Linked DNA regions of Homo sapiens: region 2 is linked to region 1. The links are contacts of gene promoters, found by promoter capture Hi-C in human tissues and cell types (Jung and others, 2019). All regions are on one chromosome and are shown on one strand. Each heading gives the region's core, a stretch centred on a gene start or on the middle of the fragment in contact. The rest is flanking DNA. Distances are from core to core; before and after follow the strand shown. Region 1 holds the start of NDST2 (N-deacetylase and N-sulfotransferase 2). Region 2 overlaps SAMD8 (sterile alpha motif domain containing 8).

The links. Contacts are between HindIII fragments. The study calls those that stand out against the background at their distance.
Region 2: a contact is called between a fragment that was not itself captured here and the fragment with the promoter of NDST2 in region 1, in 1 of the 25 tissues and cell types used here (dorsolateral prefrontal cortex).

Annotation. Positions count from the first base shown.
Region 1 is chr10:73,808,461-73,814,021 of GRCh38, reverse strand. It overlaps NDST2 (N-deacetylase and N-sulfotransferase 2), which reads left to right and starts at 2,424. Exons shown (of 15, transcript NM_003635.4): 1 at 2,424-2,548; 2 at 3,119-3,223; 3 at 5,293-5,561. CAMK2G (calcium/calmodulin dependent protein kinase II gamma) reads left to right here. Exons shown (of 23, transcript NM_001367534.1): 23 at 1-1,521. It overlaps NDST2-ZSWIM8-AS1 (NDST2-ZSWIM8-AS1 readthrough), which reads left to right and starts at 2,202. Exons shown (of 18, transcript NR_182658.1): 1 at 2,202-2,548; 2 at 3,119-3,223; 3 at 5,293-5,561. RefSeq lists silencers at 1,910-2,619, 2,920-2,989. The HindIII fragment of the contact is 10,328 bases long and covers 1-3,609 here.
Region 2 is chr10:75,173,314-75,178,874 of GRCh38, reverse strand. SAMD8 (sterile alpha motif domain containing 8) reads right to left here. Exons shown (of 6, transcript NM_001174156.2): 5 at 2,659-2,809; 6 at 1-2,487. The coding sequence ends at 2,183. Among named protein-coding and RNA genes, the nearest start is that of VDAC2, 35 kb to the left of the region's middle. The HindIII fragment of the contact is 3,060 bases long and covers 1,389-4,448 here.

The DNA.
Region 1 (5,561 bases), core at 1,175-3,674:
ATGAACTTCTTTGGAACTTGCATAGGCGCCTAGAATGGGGCTGATGAGAACATCGTGACCATCAGACCTACTTGGGAGAGAACGCAGAGCTCCCAGCCTGCTGTGGAGGCAGCTGAGAAGTGGTGGCCTCAGGACTGAGAGCCCGGACGTTGCTGTACTGTCTTGTTTAGTGTAGAAGGGAAGAGAATTGGTGCTGCAGAAGTGTACCCGCCATGAAGCCGATGAGAAACCTCGTGTTAGTCTGACATGCACTCACTCATCCATTTCTATAGGATGCACAATGCATGTGGGCCCTAATATTGAGGCCTTATCCCTGCAGCTAGGAGGGGGAGGGGTTGTTGCTGCTTTGCTTCGTGTTTTCTTCTAACCTGGCAAGGAGAGAGCCAGGCCCTGGTCAGGGCTCCCGTGCCGCCTTTGGCGGTTCTGTTTCTGTGCTGATCTGGACCATCTTTGTCTTGCCTTTTCACGGTAGTGGTCCCCATGCTGACCCTCATCTGGGCCTGGGCCCTCTGCCAAGTGCCCCTGTGGGATGGGAGGAGTGAGGCAGTGGGAGAAGAGGTGGTGGTCGTTTCTATGCATTCAGGCTGCCTTTGGGGCTGCCTCCCTTCTTATTCTTCCTTGCTGCACGTCCATCTCTTTTCCTGTCTTTGAGATTGACCTGACTGCTCTGGCAAGAAGAAGAGGTGTCCTTACAGAGGCCTCTTTACTGACCAACTGAAGTATAGACTTACTGCTGGACAATCTGCATGGGCATCACCCCTCCCCGCATGTAACCCAAAAGAGGTGTCCAGAGCCAAGGCTTCTACCTTCATTGTCCCTCTCTGTGCTCAAGGAGTTCCATTCCAGGAGGAAGAGATCTATACCCTAAGCAGATAGCAAAGAAGATAATGGAGGAGCAATTGGTCATGGCCTTGGTTTCCCTCAAAACAACGCTGCAGATTTATCTGCACAAACATCTCCACTTTTGGGGGAAAGGTGGGTAGATTCCAGTTCCCTGGACTACCTTCAGGAGGCACGAGAGCTGGGAGAAGAGGCAAAGCTACAGGTTTACTTGGGAGCCAGCTGAGAAGAGAGCAGACTCACAGGTGCTGGTGCTTGGATTTAGCCAGGCTCCTCCGAGCACCTCATGCATGTCCCAGCCCCTGGGCCCTAGCCCTTTCCTGCCCTGCAGTCTGCAGTGCCAGCACGCAAATCCCTTCACCACAGGGTTTCGTTTTGCTGGCTTGAAGACAAATGGTCTTAGAATTCATTGAGACCCATAGCTTCATATGGCTGCTCCAGCCCCACTTCTTAGCATTCTTACTCCTCTTCTGGGGCTAATGTCAGCATCTATAGACAATAGACTATTAAAAAATCACCTTTTAAACAAGAAACGGAAGGCATTTGATGCAGAATTTTTGCATGACAACATAGAAATAATTTAAAAATAGTGTTTGTTCTGAATGTTGGTAGACCCTTCATAGCTTTGTTACAATGAAACCTTGAACTGAAAATATTTAATAAAATAACCTTTAAACAGTCCATTGTGTTACTGCTGTTGGAGGTTTACGGCCAGAGGCGTAGATTTTAGCAGCCTGGCTTACCAGGTTGGAGAGAGTACCTCCTCCTACTCCCTTTGGGTACTTTTGAGAATAAAACTTCCTCATGCCTGTAATCCCAGTACTTTGGGAGGCCGACGCGGGCGAATCACGAGGTCAGGAGTTCGAGACCAGCCTGGCTAATATGGTGAAACCCCGTCTCTACTAAAAAATACAAAAAATTTAGCTGGGCATAGTGGCGGGCGCCTGTAATCCCAGCTGCTCGGAAGGCTGAGGCAGGAGAATCGCTTGAACCTGGGAGGGGGAGGTTGCAGTGAGCCGAGGTCGCGCCACTGCACTCCAGCCCAGGCGACAGAGTGAGACTCCGTCTCAAAAAAAAAAAAAAAAAAAAAAAAAAAAAAAAAAAACTTCTCATAAACAGCCTCCAAACAGCGCTCGGTGCTGCGCAGGCGACGCGGGGCGGGGAGGGAGGGTGAGTGCCCTGGGAGCCGGCTGAGGGCCTCGCCCCGCCCCTGGTCCCGCCTCCGGTTAGGCCGCTCCGCCTCTTACTCCTCCCCTCCCCCGAGTGGGCCGGCCCGGCTCCCCCTCCGCGGGGCTGAGTGGATGAGCCCAGGCCTGAGCCCGCCCCTGCTCCGAAGTCGTGGTCCCCGACGCTCGGCCGGCAGTGCCATCGCGCGGAGAGGAGGGGGTGCGCTTCCGCGGGCGGGGCGCGGAGCCCGCCGTCTCGGAGGCCGCGGCTCGGCCCGGCACTGCGGAGGGCCGCTTGATTTCCCGGAACCCAGGTCGCGCGGCTGCTAGGGCCGGAGCCGGTGGATCCGAGCGGGTGCCACCAGCGGCGGCGCGCCGCCTCCCCCGGTGGGAGCGGTGGTTGGGCCAGGCTGCGGCAGAGCGTTCGCTCGGAGATGGCGGAGCAGCCGCGACGCGGCCCGTGGCCCCGAAAGCAGGGAAGCCGGGCAGCCCCGGGACGCGGCGGAGCCCGGGGACAGCGGGGACGCCGCCCAGTCCTCCGGGTGAGCCGCCCCTGAGGAGACCCCCCCGCCCACGGTCGCGCTCAGGCCCCCCCAACAGACTCCCTTGGATGTTGCCACCATCACCACCCGCAGGGTCGTCCCGGGCGGCCCAGCGTGCGCCGCGCCCCGGGTCCTTTCCGCCGGCCTCCCTCAGAACCGCCTCGCTCCCCTCCGGACCGGGCGGGCTCCCTTCTTCCCGCAGGGCTCTCCCAGCCCAGAGGCTGTCTCGATGTCACCCCGGAGTCGCCGCCGCGCGCCTGTGGCCCCTTCCCCTTTGGTGTCCCACATCCGGTGCGCTCTTCGCATCCACCTGTGCCCCCGTCTCCTCTCGGCGGGGCCCCTCCACCCGCCAGCCCCGGGCCCCCTCGGCGCCCGCAGCCTCCGCGCCGCTGCTCCGGCCGTCCCGGCCTCCCCAAGCCCGGGCCCGGCCCCGGCCCCCGTCTGGCTTCGCCGTCCTCAGAGATCTCCCGCACACACCCACCCCGCCCAGCCCTGCTGGCCCTCAGTGTTCACTGGCCCGGCCTGCGGCGCTCCCGGCGCCCCTTCCCTAAACCTTGCTGCTTCTTCCAGGTATGAAGCTAAAATGCAGCGGCTAAGAACGCGGCTCTGGAGCTTGACAGGCCTGACGTCGAATCCCAGCCCTCCCACCAACTGAGCTGTGTGATCCTGGGCAAGGTTCTAAGCTTCTCTGAGTTACTCATATGTGAAATGGGGATAATGGAGCATGTACCTTTTCCCTACCTCTTAGGGCTGGTGTGAAGATTAAATATATGTGAAGCTCTTAGAAGAATGGCTGGCAAGTTGTAATTTCTCAAATACGGGATGATACACCCTGAGTATCAACTTCCCGTCAGTGACCTCCTCACTACAATGTTTTCTCTAAAGTTGCATCACATTCTTAGCATTCACCCCTTCCCGTCACCATTTTGATCCTCTCCCCCAGCTGTCTTCTCGTGTCGTTTTACCTAGGCCAAAGCTGAACTGTTTTATTTTTATTTTTATTTTTATTTTTTTTTGAGCTGGAGTCTAGCTCTGTCACCCAGGCTGGAGTACAGTGGCACAATCTCAGCTCACTGCAATTTCCGCCTCCCACGTTCAAGTGATTCTCCTGCCTCAGCCTCCTGAGTAGCTGGGACTACAGGCGCCCACCACCATGCCCATCTAATTTTTGTATTTTTAGTAGAGACGGGGCTTCACCATGTTGGCCAGGCTGGTCTCGAACTCCTGACCTCAAGTGATCACCCGCTTCGGCCTTTCACAGTGCTGGAATTACAGGCGTGAGGCACCACGCCTGTCCTGAACTGTTTTTAAATCATCTCTGTCAATTCTGAAGGACCTCAGCTCTGCCTTATCACCCCTGAGATGTGTGTTTGGGGGTGGGTGGTAGAGAGGGATTGCCAGCCTTACAAGGAGGCTGAGTGGGGATAGTGACAATAAAGCTTACAGAAGCAGTCGATTTAAGAAAAAGAACAGACTCAGGAGGCTGAGGCCGGAGGATTGTCTGTCTGACCCCAGGAGTTCAAGACCAGCCTGGGCAACGTAACAAGACCCCCATCTCTAAAAAAAATTAAAAATTAGTAGGGTGTGGTGGTGCAAAGCTGTAGTCCCAGCTACATGGGAGGCTGAGGTGGGAGGATCACTTGAGCCCAGGAGTTTGAAGCTGCAGTAGGCTATGATCACACTAGCACACTGTATCCTGGGTGACAGAGCAAGACTCCATCTAAAAATAATAAAAGAGATCCCCAAAATTAGACCTCCTTAAAACTGTTTTCTGATCACACTGTCCTTTTTCCTTCTGTCATTGGTTGGATGTGACTTAAGCTCCTGTTGCTCTCTGTCATCCAGTCCTTACTCAAGTTGTTCTGTTTGTGTAACTGGACTCAATACCTCATGTCTCTCCAGACTAGCTCAGGGACTCTTCTGAGCTGTTTAGGAATAGGGTTGTAGAACTACTTAGGCTAAGTTAGGAAGGAGAAGTAGAGTGGACTCAGCTGTATGGCTTTTCTCAGCACCCAGTGTGTGGCCTGCTCAGGGGTTACATTTTTATCTCCTGACTGGCAAAGTTGAGGTGAAGGTCAGGGGCAGGTAATGTTTCACAAGCAACGGGTAAGGGAGTCCCTAATTTCTGGGTTTGGAAACTGGTAGAATGATTACCTATCATGAGGATTGCTCTTTCCTTTTGAACTCCCCCACCATAGTGTCCACCTGACTGCAAGTTCGTTAAAGCTGTTGGCTGTGATATTGGGTTTGATTGATGAGAAGATTAACAGACTCATGAGTTCCTTATCTGATATTTTGTTGGAGCATGGGACTTCTGAAGACTTCCGGGGCTTTCCGTCCCTTCCTCACAGAAAGATCAGAGCTGTTGCTGGCTGCCAGCTGCTCGGTCATGGGCTAGGAACTCCTTTCAGAGCAGGCCTGTTTTTAGCCTTCTAGGATATTTAGCCTCTTGTTGATGGGAGATTTGTTCCTATCATTTGCATATACTGCTCCATCTCTGAGCTTTGCTTAGAGAGGAGAATTTGGACATTCATTTGGGTATTCTAAGAAAGGGAAAGGGAACAAGCTGTGAAGCTAAGGTATAGGACTCAGCTTGTAGATTCTCCTAGAGGAAACTTTTTTTTTTTTTTTTTTGAGAACAGATTATCCAGTAAGCAGGAGGTAAGAGAGATGGGATGGGGAGGAGAATGGATTAATGACAATTTCAGAGGGAGGAGTAACCCACTGATTTCTCTGTCTTACAGGTAGAGGGGAAGAGATTGAACTTTGCTGACCTTTGATGTGAGGCGCTCAGCCAGGGCCAAGGGGAGAGCCTGGCAAGATTTGCAGCCTGAAGCCATGGGCCAGGGGGCCATGGTGACCTGAGACAAGTGGACTCTGTATAGTTGCCCCCTGCTTCCCCTTCTACCTCCCCTACCCTATGCTAAGGGGACTCGTCTCCACCTCGTAAAGGAAACTCCCCAAGGGAATCCCTGTCCCCTATTTTCCTATCCTTCTACCCTTCCAAGACAGT
Region 2 (5,561 bases), core at 1,669-4,168, 1.4 Mb before region 1:
GTAGTTTTAGTAGAGATGAGGTTTCACCATATTGGCCAGGCTAATCTCGAACTCCTGACCTCAAGCCATCCGCCTGCCTTGGCCTCCCAAAGTGCTGGGATTACAGGCGTGAGCCATTGCACCCAGCCATGTTTTTAAGAGAATGGGTCTTGCTACCTTGCCCGGGCTGGAATGCAGTGGTTATTCATAGGCGTTATAACACACTCTAGTTTCTAACTCCTGGCCTCAAGCAATCCTCCTGCCTCAGCCTCCTCAGAACCTGGGACTATAGCCTTGCACCACTGCACTCGGCTTAACATTTTAGCATTAATGTTGCCATACAGTTTTTTGAACCCTTTCCCAAAAGCCAACATCACTGCCTCCCTAGCTAAATTCAGTCTGTTCTGTCACGTAGAAAAATAACAGTAACATATCTTTTTACCTGAAGGGTCAAACCACTCTAACTGGCATAGGAAACATCCTTTATTTTTCATGATTATGCAACTTCTTTACATGAGATGTTGGCATTTTGTTCCTAGCATGTAACAGAATCAGTGATTTAAGATATCAGATTCTGAGTTGTGAGATTTAAAAGCATAAAAGTTGAATTGCCTTGCAGCATTTCTCAAGTGAGAAATACAAAAATGATGTTCACAGCAGACCCAAATTGGGGTCATTCAGCACTAGCTGAGACTTGTTTGCATAATTTCCTTTCCTACCCAATTCATTCAGGCTCCTATGTAGCTTATACAGGGGTGGGAATATGACTCAAAGTGCAAAAATAAAATATTTCACCCAGATAAGGAAGGAGCAAGCTTCTGCTATGTGGCCTAATTGCAGGCCTCAGAATGCCAGCACCTTTTCTAAGTTTTTGTTTTAAAATGGAATGTAAAAACTACATAATTAATATTCCAAGCAGCTTAAGCTCATTAGTTGGGAGTTTAAATTCCAATTCCATAACCATCCTACTGTCATAACTACTGTAAAAAAATCATTAAAAATAAAGTAACAAATGTTATCATAGATGTGAAATTACTTAAAGTACTAAATTTCTAGTGTTGTAAATAGCAGCTAAGTTATATCACTTCCTGACTGCCAAATTAAGACTAAATAGAAAGAATGTATATACACCATTATATTTAAAAGTAAAAAACAACGAAACTTTTTCATATCCAAGTATGTCTGAGACTGTTTACTTCCAACAGCCAAGAATGATAAATTTCAAAAACCAAAAAGTTATATTTTGCGTGCTGTAAGTTTCTTTTCAGGAGAAAACAATTCTTTGCATGCATACCTCCCTACTTAACGGCATTAAGAACTTTATCTAACATCTGGTAAAACACTCCTATTTGGCTCATTTAATAACACCATTAAAAAAGCATAAAATTGAACTGTCATCTAACAACTATAGCACAAAGAAGTTATTCTGGGTACCTATACCACTAACATTAAGCCCATTTATTTTTATGGATGCAGCCATTTTTCCCTCATGAATACTCACTGAGGGTCACACTGGCACTGCATCTTTTGTTGCATCTTTGGTGAAATATGCCAGCCCTACATTTGCATTAATGAGGAGACCAATGGCATCCTAGCCAGTACTCTGTCACGTCATCTATGGCCTCTTTCATTCTCTTCTTATTTCAGGCATCCTGGTATGCTCAGTATATTTAAAGATGGTTCAGAAGGCAAAAACTCTTTGTCAGTAAAACAGATCATGTCCCAGGGTTGCATTTTTTAAAATGAAACAAAGATTAGTCCAAAGAACAAGTACTGTCACTTGTTAGGGTTTCTTCTTCTAAAGGTAATAAGGAGCTTCAAAACATATTATTTCTTGACTAGAGCCCTACTGGAAATCAATGAAAATTCCTCAACCAGCAAACTGCTCAAGTTGACTTGTTTAAAGTTCAATAAGCAAATACTCAACAGGTAAGGGTACAGCCTGACTTCAATCACAACATTAAGTCTTCCTAAAGAGAAGGGGCAGAAAACATCTACTTAAGCTTTCTGTTCAAATAGCTACATAAGGACTCTTGATTGTTCTTTCTTGCTTTTTATAATCATAACTTTGCTCAGAACAGAAAACTTTACTTTGTCAACACATAAGCCAGGCATCTAAGAACAACCTAGGGGGAGAACGCAAAGTTACTCATTTTCAACAACTATTATATATTTAATCACAAATTCATTAGAAAGATAGTATTCATCCAATTAGTCTTTTCATTATTGCTGGTTTTGAAAATGGCCAACAATATTCATTAGGTACTGTGCCATTAACATTGCATTCAAAAAAAGAGAACATGGGAAACCAAATCCTTGCTCTCCTACTCTGCTGATATGCTCTGGTATTGGCCAGAGTATGGTAGTACAAAAAGAGTCTTGTTGTTATATAAAAAGCAATAAACACATCAATAGAATAATGTTCATGGGCAGCCAAGATGAAGAAGATTCCAAAGAGGTTGAGAACCCAGGATAAAGTGTGCAAGAAATTCCAGCTTCTTGGTGTATCTAGGAAAAGGACAGAAAGATCATTTTAAAGCTACATTCCTTCCAATGCTTCTCAGTCACGTTTCTCAGGTCAGGCTGTTTTGCCATTCTTCACAGGATCTGACACCCTTCCCACAGCCTTCACTGCAGCTAGTTACCTAATACGCATAGAAGCACTAAAAAGATACTTACATTCGGTGACAAAGAAATTCAGCATAGTTAGGACGACTGTGTGGCCACTAAACATGTAATCTCCACATGTGTGAACGCCAGTCAGGGTCATACCAAAGCCACTCCAAATGGCAAAGGCTCGATGTAATTTCTCCCATACACTGCCATATATCTATGAAGAAAAGTTATGAATTAGTGCTTCAAATGCTTAGGGAGGTGGGAACTTCCCAACATCCATTCCTATTGAAATTCAAATGCTGAATAACTTAGAAATAAGATCTAAGCCAAAGCATCTAGGCCTTCAGTCTAATGAATTCCAGCCAGACTTCAAGAATGGGTGGGCAAAGCTTGGCTGTACTCAGAAATATTTTGGTAATTAAATGAAATCAGACTGGGCACAGTGGCTCATGCCTGTAATCCCAGCACTTTGGGAGGCTGAGGTGGGTGGATCACCTGATGTCAGGAGTTCAACATCAGCCTGGCCAACATGGCGAAACCCCAACTCTACTAAAAATACAAAAATTAGCCAGGCATGGTGGTGCACACCTATAATCCCAGCTACTAGGGAGGCTAAGGCAGGAGAATCACTTGAACCTGGGAGGCGGAGGTTGCAGGGAGCCGAGATCGCGCCACTGTACTCCAGCCTGGGCGACACAGTAAGACTCTGTCTCAAAAAAATTGATTAATTAATTAAAAATAAATAAATAAATAAATAAATAAATGAAATCACTGTAACATGAACTCCTTTACTAGGAGTTCCTTTATAATAAAAAGTTCTCTATAATACAAAAACATCTCCAAGTTTTTAATCCAATATCACAGTAGTAGTTGCTTGGCTATTCTTGCCAATAAGACATAGGCTATGACAGACGGAGATCAATGTCTACCTTTCAACATCCACTCTCCCCTTCTTCACTGGTAACACAATCTCAAATATATTGAGGCAGCAATGAATTCAGCCAAAATATTGCCTTTCCCAGCCTCCCTTGTAGCTAGGTGTGGCCACGTGACTAAGTTCTGTACAATAAGATCTAAGTAGAAGTGTTAAGGGTTTCTGGGAAGGCTACTTATCAAGGTAAGAGACAACAGTTTTGAGGAAGTCTTTTCTAACTTTTTACCTTTCCTTTTTTTAGTCTACAACTCAGACTCATTCAACTGGAGGTGAAACTCCAGCAACCATCTTGGACCACAAAGTGGCCTTGAGGATACAAGCCAAGTATTGGGATAGCAGACCAGAAAGACAGAAGAATTATGGGGTTTTTTTGGATGACTTCGTAAAATTATCATACCAGACCTTGTGTACCTACCTTCAGACTCTTTTTTGAGAGAGAATAAACCATTGTGTGTTTATTAAACCATAGCCACTTTGAATTTCCAGTTATCAATAGCCAAACCTAATCCCAACTCCCACACATACGCCTAAAAAAGCAGTCCATTTTGAGGAAGACCTTGAGTGACAACTGCTTTACAAAAGAGGGACAGTCACTTAAAAAAAAAAAGCATACTGCAGGGTGCGGTGGCTCACGCCTATAATCCCAGCACTTTGAGAGGCCGAGGTGGGTGGATCATCTGAGGTCAGGAGTTCGAGATCAGCCTGACCAACATGGAAAACCCATCTCTACTAAAAGTACAAAAATTAGCTGGGCATGGTGGCACATGCCTGTAATCCCAGCTACTCAGGAGACTGAGGCAGGAAAATCTCTTGATCCCGGGAGGGGTAGGTTGTGGTGAGTAGAAATCGTGCCATTGCACTCCAGCCTGGGCAACAAGAGCAAAACTCCATCTCAAAAAAAAAAAAAAAAAAAAAGAGGCCAGGCACGGTGGCTCACGCCTGTAATCCCAGCACTTTGGGAGGCCGAGGTGGGTGGATCACAAGGTCAGGAGATTGAGACCATCCTGGCTAACACGGTGAAACCCCATCTCTACTAAATATACAAAAAATTAGCCGGGCTTGGTGGCGGGCACCTGCAGTCCCAGCTACTCGGGAGGCTGAGGCAGAAGAATGGCGTGAACCCGGTAGGTGGAGCTTGCAGTGAACAGAGATCGCGCCACTGCACTCTAGCCTGACTACACTCTAGCCTGGGCGACAGAGCGAGACTCCGTCTCAAAAAAACAACAACAACAACAAAAACCACACACAAAAAGGCATACTAGTATTATTATAATAATACAATTTAATAATAACATAATAATGGTACAAAAAGGTGCTAAAATTTTATGTACATTTACTATGTGCAAGGCATGCTGCTAAGTGCTTTATATGTTACTGCATTTAATTTCCACAGCAATCCTATGAAGTGATTTAATTGTGCAGATGAGGAAACTGGCTTAGAGAGGTCACATAGCTAGTAAGTAACACAGTCAGGATGTGAACCCAGGGAACCCAATTCCAAAGCCCTATGTCTTAAAGATTCTATCAAATATGACCAAAATAAACAACCTCATAGATATCACAATCTCATTAGGAATCTCACCTGCTGATTATACACTGCCCAGCTTTCCCTTTCTGCCTCATTTGAGGGAAAGAAAGGAAGAAGAATTTATTATTAGAGAGAAAGAAAGATAATACACATGGGTTTGGTTCTTCTGTGATCGCTATGAACACGGGCTTAGAGATATATTACTCTTGAGAAAGTAAAAAATCATGTAGTAAATAAACAGAAGAGACTGGTAGGAAAATGTCTCAACCAAGGATAGGAAACTAGTGATGCCAGTCAAAAGGCAGTTATCTCTCCATCCTTTCCCATCTTAAATGTCTCATATATCCTTCCAAAAAATAAAAACTGAAACACAACGGAGCAGAATGAATAGGATGTTTTGACAAGAGAAGGTGTAGAAATATGCATTAAGTGTTTCTAAATTTCAAAAATAGGCATGTTATTGGTTCTGTCCTCAAACCCCTTACTTCCAGGAATGCAATTTCA